Regions from separate parts of the Homo sapiens genome. Here region 1 is linked to region 2. Evidence: promoter capture Hi-C in 16 types of primary human blood cells and fetal thymus (Javierre and others, 2016). All regions are on one chromosome and are shown on one strand. Each heading gives the region's core, a stretch centred on a gene start or on the middle of the fragment in contact. The rest is flanking DNA. Distances are from core to core; before and after follow the strand shown. Region 1 holds the start of UBA6 (ubiquitin like modifier activating enzyme 6). Region 2 holds the start of GRSF1 (G-rich RNA sequence binding factor 1).

What was found. The method cuts DNA at HindIII sites, captures the fragments that hold promoters and counts their contacts. A CHiCAGO score of 5 or more calls a contact.
Region 1: a contact is called between the fragment with the promoter of UBA6 here and the fragment with the promoter of GRSF1 in region 2, in 1 of 17 cell types (total CD8 T cells). The highest score is 8.6, in total CD8 T cells.

The regions. Positions count from the first base shown.
Region 1 is chr4:67,697,667-67,704,995 of GRCh38, reverse strand. It overlaps UBA6 (ubiquitin like modifier activating enzyme 6), which reads left to right and starts at 3,841. Exons shown (of 33, transcript NM_018227.6): 1 at 3,841-3,947. The coding sequence starts at 3,877. UBA6-DT (UBA6 divergent transcript) reads right to left here and starts at 3,718. Exons shown (of 2, transcript NR_015439.1): 1 at 3,512-3,718. RefSeq lists silencers at 3,748-3,817, 3,948-4,117. The HindIII fragment of the contact is 4,018 bases long and covers 2,907-6,924 here.
Region 2 is chr4:70,835,684-70,842,574 of GRCh38, reverse strand. GRSF1 (G-rich RNA sequence binding factor 1) reads left to right here and starts at 2,685. Exons shown (of 10, transcript NM_002092.4): 1 at 2,685-3,104; 2 at 6,261-6,417. The coding sequence starts at 2,748. LOC124900710 (a long non-coding RNA gene) reads right to left here and starts at 3,583. Exons shown (of 3, transcript XR_007058131.1): 1 at 3,430-3,583. RefSeq lists silencers at 2,418-2,667, 2,728-3,277 and enhancers at 2,674-3,327, 3,328-3,982. The HindIII fragment of the contact is 9,073 bases long and covers 1-4,142 here.

The DNA.
Region 1 (7,329 bases), core at 2,592-5,091, 3.1 Mb after region 2:
TGTTCGATAGCACTAGAGGGTGACTATAGTTAACAATAATTTATCATATATTTCAAAATAGCTAGAAGGCAAGATGTGAAATGTTCCTAACACAAAGAAATAAACAATGTTTGAGGTGATGGATATCACAATTACCTTGGTTTTATCATTATACCTTGTACGCAAATATCAAAATACCCCATAAATATATGCTTATTATGTATGTATTAATTTAAAAAGGAAATAAAACCATAATATTGCTGAACATTACACAAAAGCAACAGAAAAGGGAATTCTCTGAAATTAGAAAAGTTTTCCCAAAACCTGTGAGAAAGCAAATAAGCATAGAATAAGAAAGTAAAAATCTGCTTTGCCATTCATCAGCTATGGGATAACAGGCATAAATAAAGCCAGCTGTGAAATTAACAGAAAATACTATTTCTCTCTGGAAGATGCTTTAAAATGTCTCAAACACACACACACACACACACACACACACACACACACACACACCCTTAGAGTAACTGATTTTTTACTCACACAATGCCCTTTTCTCTAAAATCATAGAACATTTATGACAATATCAAAAGATTGTCAAAAACTCTGCTGTTTAAATCCTATTATTAAGATTGAAATATCTCACTCTTGGCTAGAATATCTAAAGTCACATTGACACAGAGAAATAGTTTCTACTTCTGAGAGGCAGAACTTTGCAATTTCCAAAAAACAGAACCCTGGGTCCATCTTGTATTACGTTGGTGCAAAAGTAATTGCAGTTTTTGCCATTAGTAATAGTTTAGATGTAGTGTAGAATTCTTTACAAACAGCCTTGCTTTCTTTTGAGTCTATCAAAGCACTACTTCATTTCAATTCCTTCTAAACTCCATACTTCCCCAAATTCCTACAATAAATCTATCTCTTCCTCTGTTGGTGAGGTACCCCATGGTTCTTCTGGAATGTGGGCTCCCTCCTTGCAATGAGCCAGTAAACCTGATGATATGGTCTGCTCTGTGTCCCCACCCAAATCTCACTTCAAATTTTAATTCCCATGTGTGCAAGGAGAGACCTGGTGGGAGGTGATTAGATTATGGGGGCAGTTCCCCCATGCTATTCTTGTGATAATGAGGGAGTTCTCATGAGATCTGATGGTTTTAAAAGTGGCAGTTTTCCCACGATCTCACTTCTCTCCTGCCACCGTGTAAGATATGTCTTGCTTCTCCTTCACCTTCTGCTATGATTTAAGTTTCCTGAGGACTCCCCAGCCATGTGGAACTGTGAGTCAACTAAATCTCTTTCCTTTATAAATTACCCAGTCTCGGGTATTTCTTTATAGCAGTGTGAAAACAGACTAATATACCTGACTTTCTTGGAATACAGTTTTGTTCCTGATAAACTTAGGCTTATTGGGCTAAGAAGCCTGTCTCATATTAGTTCAGGAACACCAATTTCACATAAAAATGAGCAATAACTCACGCCTGTAATCCCAGCACTTTGGGAGGCCAAGGGGTGGATCACGAGGTCAGGAGATCGAGACCATCCTGGCTAACACGGTGAAACCCCGTCTCTACTAAAAATACAAAAAATTAGCCGGGCGTGGTGGCAGGTGCCTGTAGTTCCAGCTACTCGGGAGGCTGAGGCAGGAGAATGGCGTGAATCCGGGAGGCAGAACTTGCAGTGAGCCAAGATCCCGCCACTGCACTCCAACCTGGGCAACAGAGCAAGGCTCTGTCTCAAAAAAAAAAAAAAAAAAAAAAAAAAAAGAGCAACAAAAAAAGCATCAAGTTCAAATCCATGCAGTTATTATGTGAAGAGAATAAGGAATATAACATCATCATCAAAGATAATAAAAACATGCCTGAAAGATGCACTACAAAACAATTTATTATTTTGAAACTAGCTAAATGACATTAGAGAAATGATAAAAGATATGGAAGAACTTGATTCTGAATTAGAAAAACCTCAGAAATGAGGTGACAGAACTCAGGAGAATTAGTAATAAAGAATAAACTACAAGAAACACAAAAGCTAATAAATGCAACAGATTATGATTTGCTGTAAAGAAACCGAGTCAATCCTTAGATCAATGTTTCTGTAATAATTCTGATTGTCAGACACTTTCTCCAATTAATTATTAAGGAGGGGCTCATGAAAACACTAGTCTCACCAAATTGATATATCAATTGTTGATAACAGTTTGTACCTTTTGTATATTAGTTTTGCTGAATGTAAAATCTTTGGCCTACATATTTTTCCCTTAAGTTTCCTCAATATGTCATTCTACTTTCTTATGACATAAAGCCTCACTGTCAAAAAGCTGTGATCGCCTAGTTTTCTTTCCCATTTTACATATGTGACAAAACATTAAAATCTGTTAAATCTGGTTGCTTGTTACATGCCTGAAATAATTCACACCATATTTTATCAAATCTAACATGCCCTCAATTTTAAGATGCATCGTTTTCTGTATTTATTTTTTAAAAATTCATCCTCTATTCATGGATGTTAAAATATGAAGAAGCGTGGGTAATGGCAGGCCATTGTTTTGGCCTAGCCTTCTACACTAGGCCCCATCAGATCAAACCAGAATGGAGTTGCTTGTGCTAAGCACCATGTAATTAAAGTGGATTTTGAAAAAATGAGCCAGTTTTTTTTAAAAAAACAGGAGATTCTAGTTAACCTAGTGGGCATAATAAGGAAGTATGCTCTGTTTTAACCTTTACAAGGAAAGAAACTTTGAAATAATCTGATTTTTGTTCTGTTTCTGCTTTCTTCAATCTTTTTCATTATCTTCAGTCCTGTAGCATTATCTTAGTGCTAGAGCAGAGCCTTGAAAGAATAGAACACAGATCAAGAACATTTTAATGTGGAAAAGGTTCACAACTGGATTGAGGAACACGGATAATGCTATAGGTGAGCAACATAAAGCTTCCAGGTATTTTAAGATGTGCAATTTTGAAGAGAATAGAGGGCACGAAGGATAATACAGTTTTGCCTGGACCCTCATCTCCATATGAGAGGAAAAATTTCTAATTAAAAATATGATACATCACAGAAAATTACATAATACCCAAAGTATATGCTAATTTTAAAAATCCTGCAGATGTTTATTCAAATATACAGTGTTATTTAGTGAAAGACAAATCCTAATGTTATTGTGTCCAACTCATTTTTGCTTTCTAAGAAAGGTGACACGGAAGTAAATGAAAAAGAATTATATGAGAACTTTTTAGATATGTGTTCTGGTAATCTAACAGTGACTAGCTCTATAACCTTGACCAAGTCACTTGCACTGACCGGAAGTTCCTTTCCCTTACCCACAAATTTAAGGGACCAAACTGGATGATCTAACGACATCTATGGCACTAAAAGTCACATGATTCTATTAAATCTGAGGCAGCGCCTCACATGTAGTGGACTCCCAAAATTATTTATTAAATGTATAACATCTTTAAGTGGTATCCCCTCACTGACAATCTGGAGCTATTAGCAGCCTTCAGTTTATTTATAAAATAAAGCTGTTTCCTCTTCTTACCGTTAAGACTCTTTTAAGGATTTGCAACGCTATCCCATCATTTCGCGGGTTACTAGAGTCCTGCATGTTTGGCTGTAGAGCAAGGGTGACGCGTAACTTCTGGACTTTGGTTCCATCTACATCTGCCGGATGCGGATGCCAGTCGCAACAGTAACGCCCCCTTCGGCCACCTGCACCACAGCACGCCATGCGGCCACACCCAAACCGGAAACCAGGACGCCCCTAGGGTTGACGGGAAGGCGCTGCCGGGCTCCTAGCTTCCCCAGGCCCGCCCCCTCTGATGACGTCTCCGCCCGCCCCTTGACCCCCCCACGGTCCCGCCCCTTCCTACCTTCCAGTAGCCGGCGGCGGTGTCTCAGGCGGCAATGGAAGGATCCGAGCCTGTGGCCGCCCATCAGGGGGAAGAGGCGTCCTGTTCTTCCTGGGGGACTGGCAGGTGAGAGGACGAGAAGGGCGAAGGTGAGGGGTCGCGGGTGGGACCCAGGCTCCGGGTTTCTGCTTCTTTCTTTCCGGCGGGCTGGGGGCGCCCGAGAGGCCGCGGGGCCGAGCAGAGCCGGCCCTGGGAGGCGAGGGGCGCGCGCGGAGTGGGTGTGGCGACGTGGGCTAGGGCCTCTGCTGTTGCCGGCTTTCCTGAGGGAAAAGTCCCCTTTCCGCACCTTTGAGGGCTTTCTCAGTTCTGGCTGGGATTCGGGATCCTCCTTCCTCCAAGTCACCAGACTTGGGGGGCTCCGGTCGAGAGCGAGTTCTGGTCTCGGTCACTTGGCGTGAGCTTCCCCGACTGGTGCCAAGCACCTTTCCTCCTTTCCGTAAAAAGAAAGCTAGGAGCGCCACTGTGCACCTCCACTGAGATCCTCTTTTGAAAACTATTACCAGAAGGAACTTGGTAAGAATGAATCAGTAGCAATCTGGACACCCTGAGGCCTTTGTTGACTTCGGAAGAAGGAAAAAAAAAAAGCCAGGAAAAAAAAATACACAAGTTACCCATTCTTATTTCCCACTTGGTTTTGAAGTTCTTCAGGTCTTTCCCGCCCCTGTAAAATTAGGGGGAAAATATTTGTGCTAGGCCTTTACCAATTTCTTGGTTAGTAGTTCCTCTTTCAATCATCTCATAATTAATAAAGCAAGTGGTTACATTCTATCCACCACTGTCAGAATACACCATGCCAAAGATAGAATTGATGGATGTATTATTTTCAGCTGATGTGAGACTTTGTAAACCTGTAGCCTTTTCGCCAGTTTCAGACTGAAGGGATGCTTTCAGTTTCATGGTGTTGTCTGCCATTGCCAACACTGCCAGAGTGGAGGGATATTATGTAATATAACCCGCGCCTTATTTGAAGCGTTTTTGATTGTCTTATAGATCATATTATTTTTACATATTTTTGAAACATTCCAGTGAGGCACAACTTTCTGAAAAGGGCCAGTCACGCCATTAAGTGGCAGAGCTAGTTAGACTGCAGCTGTTCTCGTTTTTATTCAGATTTACCCACCAGGCCTATTGCCCCCGCCATGCAAGGAAAACAGCAAGTGAAAGTGTACTAGGGATAAAATGATAGGAAAGTAGATAATAAAAAACTTTGGCCGGGCGCAGTGGCTCAAACGCTTGCAATCCCAGCGCTTTGGGAGGTCGAAGCAGGCGGGTCGCTTGAGCTCAGGAGTTCTTAGACTAGCCTGGGCAACATGGCGAAACCGCGTCTCTACAAAATACAAAAAAATTAGCTGGGCGTAGGTGATGCACGCCTGTAGTCCCAGCTACTCGGGAGGCTAAGATGAGAGGATCGCTTGAGTCTAGAGAGATCGAGGCTGCAGTGAGCCGAGATCGTGCCACTGCACTCCAGTCTGGGTGACAGAGAGAGACCCTGTCTCAAAAAAAAAGAAAAGAAACAAATTTTGTTAATTTTTATATTTTGTTACAATGCCCAAACAGGGTATATTGTGTATGTGTGTGTTTTTTATTAGGTAGGTGATCTCTTAGAACACAGCTATCTTCTGATTTGCCTTGGTAATTGGAATCAGTTTTTTTAATAGCTATCCGTTTAATTAGCTAGAAGCTGGTATCATTTGATATGTGCCAGTGTTTGGTGAGATAAATGATAACATTTTAATTACCTTTGTTTACAAATTCTTTGGCTTATTTATCAATGCTAGGACTAGAAAGTTGGATTCCAAGCCTGAATTTGATGCCATCGCATTGTTTTTAGAATCTTTTAATTGACAACTAGAGCTTCTCAGAACTAGGAATGGCCTCCACTTCTGCCAGTATATTGATCTCAGCTCTCACAGTGGTTCAGCTCCAAATGCTCCAGACTGGTTCCCTGTACCTGGGAATTATCTCTGCTTGCCAGTGTTTAGTACAGATACGTTTTTTGAAGGCCATGCTGTGAAAATGGGACGAGCACTGCTATAAATAATATGTTACTATAATAAGTATACTTTGTCAGATTTGCATATTTAGATTAGTTTTTTTCCTTTAAAATTTATTCATTTAACAGGGTTTTTTTGTTTTGTTTTGTTTGTTTGTTTTTTGACAGAGTCTTGCTCTTGTCACCCAGGCTGGAGTACAGTGGTGGGATCTTGGCTCACTGCAGCCTCCTCCTCCCGGGTTCAAGCGATTCTCCCACCTCAGCCTCCCAAGTAGCTGGGAATACAGGCGCCTGCTACTACATCTGGCTAATTTTTGTATTTTTAGTAGAGACAGGGTTTCACCACGTTGGTCAGGCTGGTCTCGAACTCCTGACTTCAGGTGGTCCGCCTGCCTTGGCCTCCCAAAGTGCTGGGATTACAAGCATGAGCCACCGCGCCCATCCCATTTAACAGGTTTTTTTAAGTGTTTCCTTTATGTCTAATATCAGAAACAGTAGGCAGTATGTGTGGTAGTCAAGAGCTAGACTGCCTGGGTTCAGATCCTGGCAGTGCCATTTGCCTGCTCTGTGACTTTGGGCAAATTTTAAGTTAACCTCCCTCAGCCTCTTTTTTCCATCTGTTCGTTGGAGATAGCAATAGTGCTTGCCCACTGTTTGGACAAGGTTGTTGTAAGGGTTAACTGAATAAGTACATCTAAAGCACTTAAATATGTAGCACAGGGTTATCTATTATTATTAAATGCCTGGTACTGTTTTAGGTATTTGGAATACAGTAGTGAGTTTTTAACAGACCATACATTTTTTTGGTAGTAGTGGCAGACAGTTAACGGTAAGTGATTTGAAGAAACTGACAGGTTAATGAGTTAGGCAGCAACCTAAGGATAAGAGTAGCCATTTTATTGATAGGGTGATCAGGAATGAGGTGTGTGGTATTTGTGACACAATATTTTAATAGAGGCTTAAGTGACAAGAAGTCAGCTATTCCGAGATTTTAAGAAAGAACATTCTAAGCAGAAGAAATAGGTAAAAACTCTGAAATGAGAGCAAGCTTGCCTTCTTGCGAAACAGCAAACAAGTCAGTGTGGCTTGAAGATAGTAAGCGAAAACGGAGACTGGTGGGAGTTGAAATTGGAGAGATAATTGGGAGACAGGACACATTGGCCCTCTCAAGCATAGTGAGGTGTTTGAATTTTGTTTTAAGAGTAAAGGAAATCCACTGAAGGGTAGTCCAAATTCAGGGAATAATTTCTGACTGCATTTTAAGATATTTAGACTGTTTTATGGAGAATAAAGGGGAAGGGCAATACTGGAAATAAGGAGACTAGCTAGGTCTTTGAAATAGCCCAGGTGAAATGTGATGATGGTTTGGCTTGAGATTGTACTGATTGAAATAGTAAGAAATGATCAGGTTTGAGATATCTTATGAAGGTAGAGCTAACAGGTCTCAGATGGAGA
Region 2 (6,891 bases), core at 1,436-3,935:
ATCCCAAGCACTTTGGGAGGCTGAGGCAGGAGGATTACTTGAACCCGGGAGGTCAAGGCTAGTGTGAGTCATATTCCCACCACTGCACCCCAGCTCGGGCAAAAGAGCAAAACCCTGTCTCTATATAAATAAGTAACTCTAGGATTCCCAAATCTTGCAGATGAAGAAACCCCCTTCTCTTTTTTGGCTGGGGTGGGGAAGACTAGCCTGTTCTTTGTTTTCCTTGGGAAGTTACAGGATTACTGATGAACAAAATTACTGTTCAGGGAAGAGACATCCAGTGGCTTCTATGTCCAGGCCCATTCCCAGGAACCACATTTCCAGAGGGGCCTCAACCCCTGAGGCCTCAACTGGCCCCTTTCCAGGTATCCAAGAACAAATCACGAACAAGCAGTGGGAAACAAAAACCAGCCTGACCTCAGCACCTGCTCTCACCCCAAAGGGAGGTGAGGGCTGCTGGCATTGGTGGGTCCTGGGCCTAGCCTCTAGCCAGAGGATGTGGGGACCTCTCTTGGGGGCCTGCCCTTCCCACACCCCCTCTCCCAGCCAGGCTGTCTTGGACATTTCTGGGACTCCTCTGAGGGATCATGGTTCTTGCTCTGGGGTTTTCTTTTGTCATTTTAACACTGAGGCATCCCAGCCTCCCTTCCTGGAAGATGGAGTATTTGCACTGTTGCCTTTTCTTTTGTCCCTGTTTTTGTATAAAAATGACAATACTCTCCGTCGGACTGTATTTTAGCCCAAAAAACAAAACTAAACCCCTTTTTCTTTGATACTCCAGGTTCATAGAGCCAAGCCTATCAATTTTTTTCTTGTTCTTTGTTTTTTGGTTGGGGAAAGGGTTTTCTAAGAAATACTGAATTTTCCTTACCTAAAAGTAGTCCAGGTTAAACAAGTCAAACTTTAAATGTAATACCCATTGCTTTAAAATATTCTAGCAAAGAAAATAAGGTCTGGAAGATGGTGGTAGGGGATAGATGAAACAAGACTGAAAAGTGTTGACAATTTATGAAGTTCTGGAAATTCATTCTGCTCTTCTGTTTGACATTTTCCACAGTAAGGAGTTTTTAAAAATACTAGCTTTCTCTTATTTTTTACTCTAACAACTTCCTTTTGCTTGTCTTTGACAAGTCCTGGCTCAGGAGGAGAAAAGCTGCACAACCAGTCTTTGTGTATGTGTGTGCAAATCTCTGTGTGTTCACTTGTGAATACAGTTTCATTAGGGGAGGGTTCACCTTTGTTATGTATTATCAGTACATAATAAATATATATGTTTTCTTTTATTTTTTTAGAGACAGGGTTTCACTCTGTCACCCAGGCTGGAGTTCAGTGGTGGCAATCATAGCTTACCACAGCCTCTACCTTCTGGGCTGAAGCAATCGGCCTCCCAAGTAGCTGGGACTACAGGCCCACGCCATCACACCCAGCTTTATTTATTTTTTGTATAGACGGGGTCTCCCTATGTTGCCCAGGCTGGTCTGGAACTCTTGGGCTCCAGTGATCCTCTCACTTCAGCCTCCCAAAGCGCTGGGATTATAGGCATGAGCCACCACGCCAGGCCTATATTTCATTTTAAAACAACGAAGTTCTCCTTCCTCACATACCTCAAATTCGGGGGGTACCAAATCTCTGATATTATCCCAACGATTTTTTTATAACCAAGGTATCACAATTCCTTTCAGAAAGGGTTCTTTAGCCACTCACACCACGGGTTTCGGTGGCACAGCGCAGGGCAGCACAGACTTGTGCTACAGCTCTCGGCCCTACCCAGAGCAGGATGGCCCTAACCTAATTTTTTTGTTTGTTTGTTTGGAGATGGCGTCTCACTCTGTCGCCCAGGCTGCAGTGCGGTGGCACGATCTTGGCTCACTGCAACCTCCGCCTCCTGGGTTCAAGCGATTCTCCTGCCTCAGCCTCCTGAGTAGCTGGGATTACGGGCACCCGTCACCACACCCGGCTAATTTTTGTGTTTTTAGTAGAGACACAGTTTCACCATGTTGGCCAGGCTGGTCTTGAACTGCTGACCTCAGGTGATCCGCCCTACCTCGGCCTACTAAAGTGCTGGGATTACAGGCGGGAGCCACCGCGTCCGACCTAATTTTTTGTATTTTAGTAGAGACGGGATTTCACCGTGTTGCCTAGGTTGGTCTCGAACTCCTGACCTCAGGCAGTCCACCCGCCTCTGCCTGCCAAAGTGCTAGGATTACAAGAATGAGTCACTACGAATGAGTCACTGCGCCAGGCCCCTAGCCTCACTTACTTTGGGCCTCAGTTTCCACCGCCTGAAAAAAGAGCAGTTCGATTGCACCCACTTCCCCGGGCCCCGCCCAAACCATGGGCAGCCCCGCCCAAACCATGGGCAGCCCCGCCCAAACCATGGGCAGCCCCGCCCAAACCATGGGCAGCCCCGCCCAAACCATGGGCAGCCCCGCCCAAACCATGGGCAGCCCCGCCCAAACCATGGGCAGCCCCGCCCAAACCATGGGCAGCCCCGCCCAAACCATGGGCAGCCCCGCCCAAACCATGGGCAGCCCCGCCCAAACCATGGGCAGCCCCGCCCAAGGGCGGAGACTGGGCGGAGCGTCGCGCTCTCCTCCACCTCCTTCCGACTCTCGGAGGCCCCCCACCCAGTGCCCGCGGCGCATGTGCCAGGCACACCCCACCCCCAACCGGCCCTGGATTCCACTTCCGTTCCACCATCGCTGCTGGAGCAGCTGCCTTCAGGCCCTGCGCCGCCTCCGGAGTCCATGGCCGGCACGCGCTGGGTACTCGGGGCGCTGCTCCGGGGCTGCGGCTGTAACTGCAGCAGCTGCCGGCGCACCGGCGCCGCCTGCCTGCCCTTCTACTCCGCCGCTGGCTCTATCCCGTCGGGCGTCTCGGGCCGCCGCCGCCTGCTGCTGCTGCTCGGGGCCGCCGCGGCCGCTGCCTCCCAGACGCGTGGCCTCCAGACCGGGCCTGTGCCTCCCGGGAGGCTGGCGGGGCCTCCCGCTGTGGCCACCTCTGCCGCGGCCGCGGCCGCCGCGTCCTACTCTGCCCTCCGTGCCTCTCTGCTGCCGCAGTCGCTGGCGGCGGCGGCCGCCGTCCCGACGCGCAGCTACAGCCAGGTACGTGGGCGCCGTGAGGGACCTGGCGCGAGATCCCTCCCGGGCCGCGTGCACGCGCCCCCGCGCCCCTCCGTCCCTCCGTGTGCGCCTCGCGGGCACGCCCGGGGATCCGCGACACTCGCCGCACACCCGCCCCCGTCCACCCTGTGCTCCTATTGGGCCCTGGAACAAGGGAAGCTCTCCCAGGCGTCGGGTCTTCTGCTTGTTTTGTTCTCGCCTCGAGTCTCTGGTCGGTTGGGCAGTGTAAGTGTGGCTGGGGTGAATGTTGAGGCCTTGTTCCCCGCCTGGCCCATGGTAGGTTTCGTGAGGCTGCTGACGCCCCCACCTCGCATCTTCTTGCTTTCCGCCGGCTGGTTGTGAAGTTGCGAGGCCCGAGCCCGCCGGAGGGTTGGGAGTTTCCGTGCAGCCCGAGCGCTAGGCCTGGGCGGCCCTCGGCGCCTCTCGGTCGGCCGCTGCTGGGAAGGTGCGCGCACACAGTTGCGTGGGCTGGCTTGTAGGGAAGGAGCCTGTCCCCATCGCGCCGTTCCCTCTCCTGTCCCCAGGGAAAGACGAGCTGTCCCGGTTTACTGAAGGTCACCTCTGCAACTCCACTCATACAGAAGGTCTTTAAGGACTGTGTGTCGCCTCGTCTGGGAAAGCAGTTTGGAGATTTAGCTGTTGGGGGGAGGGGGTGAATGGGAGGGAGCGTTGAGGGTTGAGGACACAACTTGGGGTCCCAGGAATGAATTTGCAATGTTTTCCTTTCCATTTTTTCTTTATTTTTTTAGAAAAGTCGGTGTGTAGTTAGATTGCAAATATTTTGTGCTTTGTAGATGAACCTTTCTCTTCTTGGTACGTGGCATCTGGGAAGTGTCTGCACACTTTTTAACTACCCAGCCCCTGATTCCTTAGGTCATATTTATCTTAATTCAATTTGTGCTTCTCCTTTAACTTAGGGAGACTGGGAGGCTAATCAGCATGGCTGCTGTCTGCCAGTGGCTGAGCTAATTGATTTGAATCCTGGCCCAATACTTTACGCTGCCTTTTTCTGTAAAAGCTTGTGATGCTTATGGAATTATGGAAAAATGGGGAAAGTTGTCTACAAAAACCACAACAAAACCATCTCCAGTAAACCTTTGTGAGCTAGCTTCTCTCTTTTTTTTTCTATGAAATTGACTGCGGTGATATCTGTAGAGCATCTACTATGTGTTAGACACTGCTTACATTTATTCCTTAAAACTAAACATTAAGCCTTTTTTTTTTTTTTTTTTTGGAGACCGAGTCTCGCTCTGTCGCCCAGGCTGGAGTGCAGTGGAATGATCTCGGCTCACTGCAAGCTCCGCCTTCCGGGTTCACGCCATTCTCCTGCTTCAGCCTCCCGAGTAGCTGGGACTACAGGCGCCCGCCACTGCGCCCAGCTAATTTTTTGTATTTTTAGTAGAGACGGGGTTTCACCGTGGTCTCGATCTCCTGACCTCGTGATCCGCCCGCCTCTGCCTCCCAAAGTGCTGGGATTACAGGCGTGAGCCACCGCGCCCGGCCTAACATTAAGCCTTAATGAAAATTATAGATAGGGCTGGGCGCGGCACTTTGGGAGGCTGCGGCGGGTGGATCACCTGAGGTCAGGAGTTCGATAGCAGGCTAACCAACATGGTGAAACTCCGTGTCTACTAAAAAAATGCAAAAAAATTAGCCGGGCGGGGTGGCGGGCGCCTGTAATCCCAGCTACCCGGGAGGCTGAGGCAGGAGAATCCTTTGAACCCGGGGAGGTTGCAGTGAGCCGAGATTGTGCCATTATACTCTAGTCTGGGCGACAAGAGCGAAACTCCGTCTCAAGAAAAAAGAAAAGAAAAGAAAATGACAGATAGTAGAAAGATATCTCTGTCCTTAGTCCGGTAGAGTGCAAGTCTTTTTTTTTTTTTTTTTTTGAGACGGAGTCTTGCTCTGTTGCCCATGCTGGAGTGAAATGCCGAGATCTCAGCTCACTGAAACCTCTACCTCCCGGGTTCAGGCGATTATCCTGCCTCAGCCTCCCGAGTAGCTGGGATTACGGGCACACGCCACCACACCCGGCTCATTTTTTGTATTTTTAGTAGAGATGGGGTTTTGCCATGTTGGCCAGGCTGGTCTTGAACTCCTGACCTCGTGATTCGCCCACCTCGGCCTCCCAAGGTGCTGGGATTACAGGCGTGAGCCACCGCACCTGGCCCAGTAGAGTGCAAGTCTTAAAGCCTGAGTTGTCTTCTTAGGTTATGGTTGTAGTGCTTCGTGGATTCTTACTAAATTCCAGTTTTACTTAATCCGATAAAAGAGACTTTACAAGTCTGTAGCCTCACACTGCTGCCGTTGTCTTTAAGATCTTTCCCTTAATCACTTGGTCTGGCATACCAGCTGACAGAGGAATATTCCCAAGGCGTCCTGCTGTCTTGTTGATTTACCCAGTCCTCAGTGTCTTGTATTAACTTATCTTTGCCTACCAAGTGAAGGACACACATTGAGCTCCACACTCAAGGCCCTCTGCTCTATGGTACCAACCTCTTTTGCCAGGTCACCTTCTTTGGCTCCTAATTTAAACAGTTGGAATTAATTGCTGTTATTCAAATGGGCATTTGGTCGTACTGCTTCTTTCTCTCGCCTTCAAACTGGAATACCCTATCTTTTATATCCTCATAAAAATTCTATCCTTCCTTCAAGGCCCATCTCATGTCACATCCTGATTCATCTGTTAGTGCTCTGATTTGAATTCCTGTAGTATTTTGTATCTTAATTATAGCACTCAGTATCTCATCTTGTATGCTTATCGTATTCTAGATAGCTATTTCAGATGAGGGCGGCAAACACTGTGTGTAGGGGCAATCAAATATTTGTCAAATTGTCAGGACCTTTCTTGTGTTGCCTTAACTACACTATTGTTAGCTATAATTTGGGGTTGATGAATTTTAAAACAAACCCTGAATGAAATTTGTGTCCTGCCAAACCTTTAGGATATACCTGCTTATGGCTTTTGGATGTACAATTTAAGCCAAAACAGGATGGGTTACATTGGTGAAGTTTACTTTTTGCTTCTGAAATAACATCTAGAATGTTAGTTTGTAGAATAAACATTTTCTAAGAATTTTTTTACATTTTTTACCTGTAAATGCAACTCTTTTTACAATTCTTCATTTCCTTTGGAAGGAGTCCAAAACTACTTACCTGGAAGACCTTCCACCACCCCCTGAGTATGAATTGGCCCCGTCCAAGTTAGAAGAGGAAGTGGATGATGTCTTTCTCATTCGAGCTCAAGGACTGCCCTGGTCATGCACTATGGAAGATGTGCTTAACTTTTTTTCAGGTATATTTTATGTATGTTTTATTTATTTATTTTTTTTCCTTATATTGTTTCTCACAAGCAGGTATGTATGTTTTAAGTATGTAATTTTGTCTGAGTAAAAGGTAGTGCTACAAATCCATGTCAGACTACGCTGTCACCTTCCTTTTTGATGGTTGGGAACTGTCTCATTCTGGTTGGTTGCATATACCAAATGATACCATGTGTGCTGTTTGCGGTATGTAACGAATTGAAAGACTTTGGGCCAGGGGCAGTGGCTCAGGCCTGTAATCAGCAGTTTGGGAGGCCAAGGTGGAAGGATGGCTTGAGGCCAGTAGTTCCATACCACACTGGGCAACACTGTGAGACTGTCTCAATTTACATATGTATAAAGACTTTGAATGCAACAAAAGTATTTTAACGTTAAGACTGCATAGTATGGGCCAGGCGCAGTGGCTCACGCCTGTAATCCCAGCACTTTGGGAGGCCGAGGCGGGC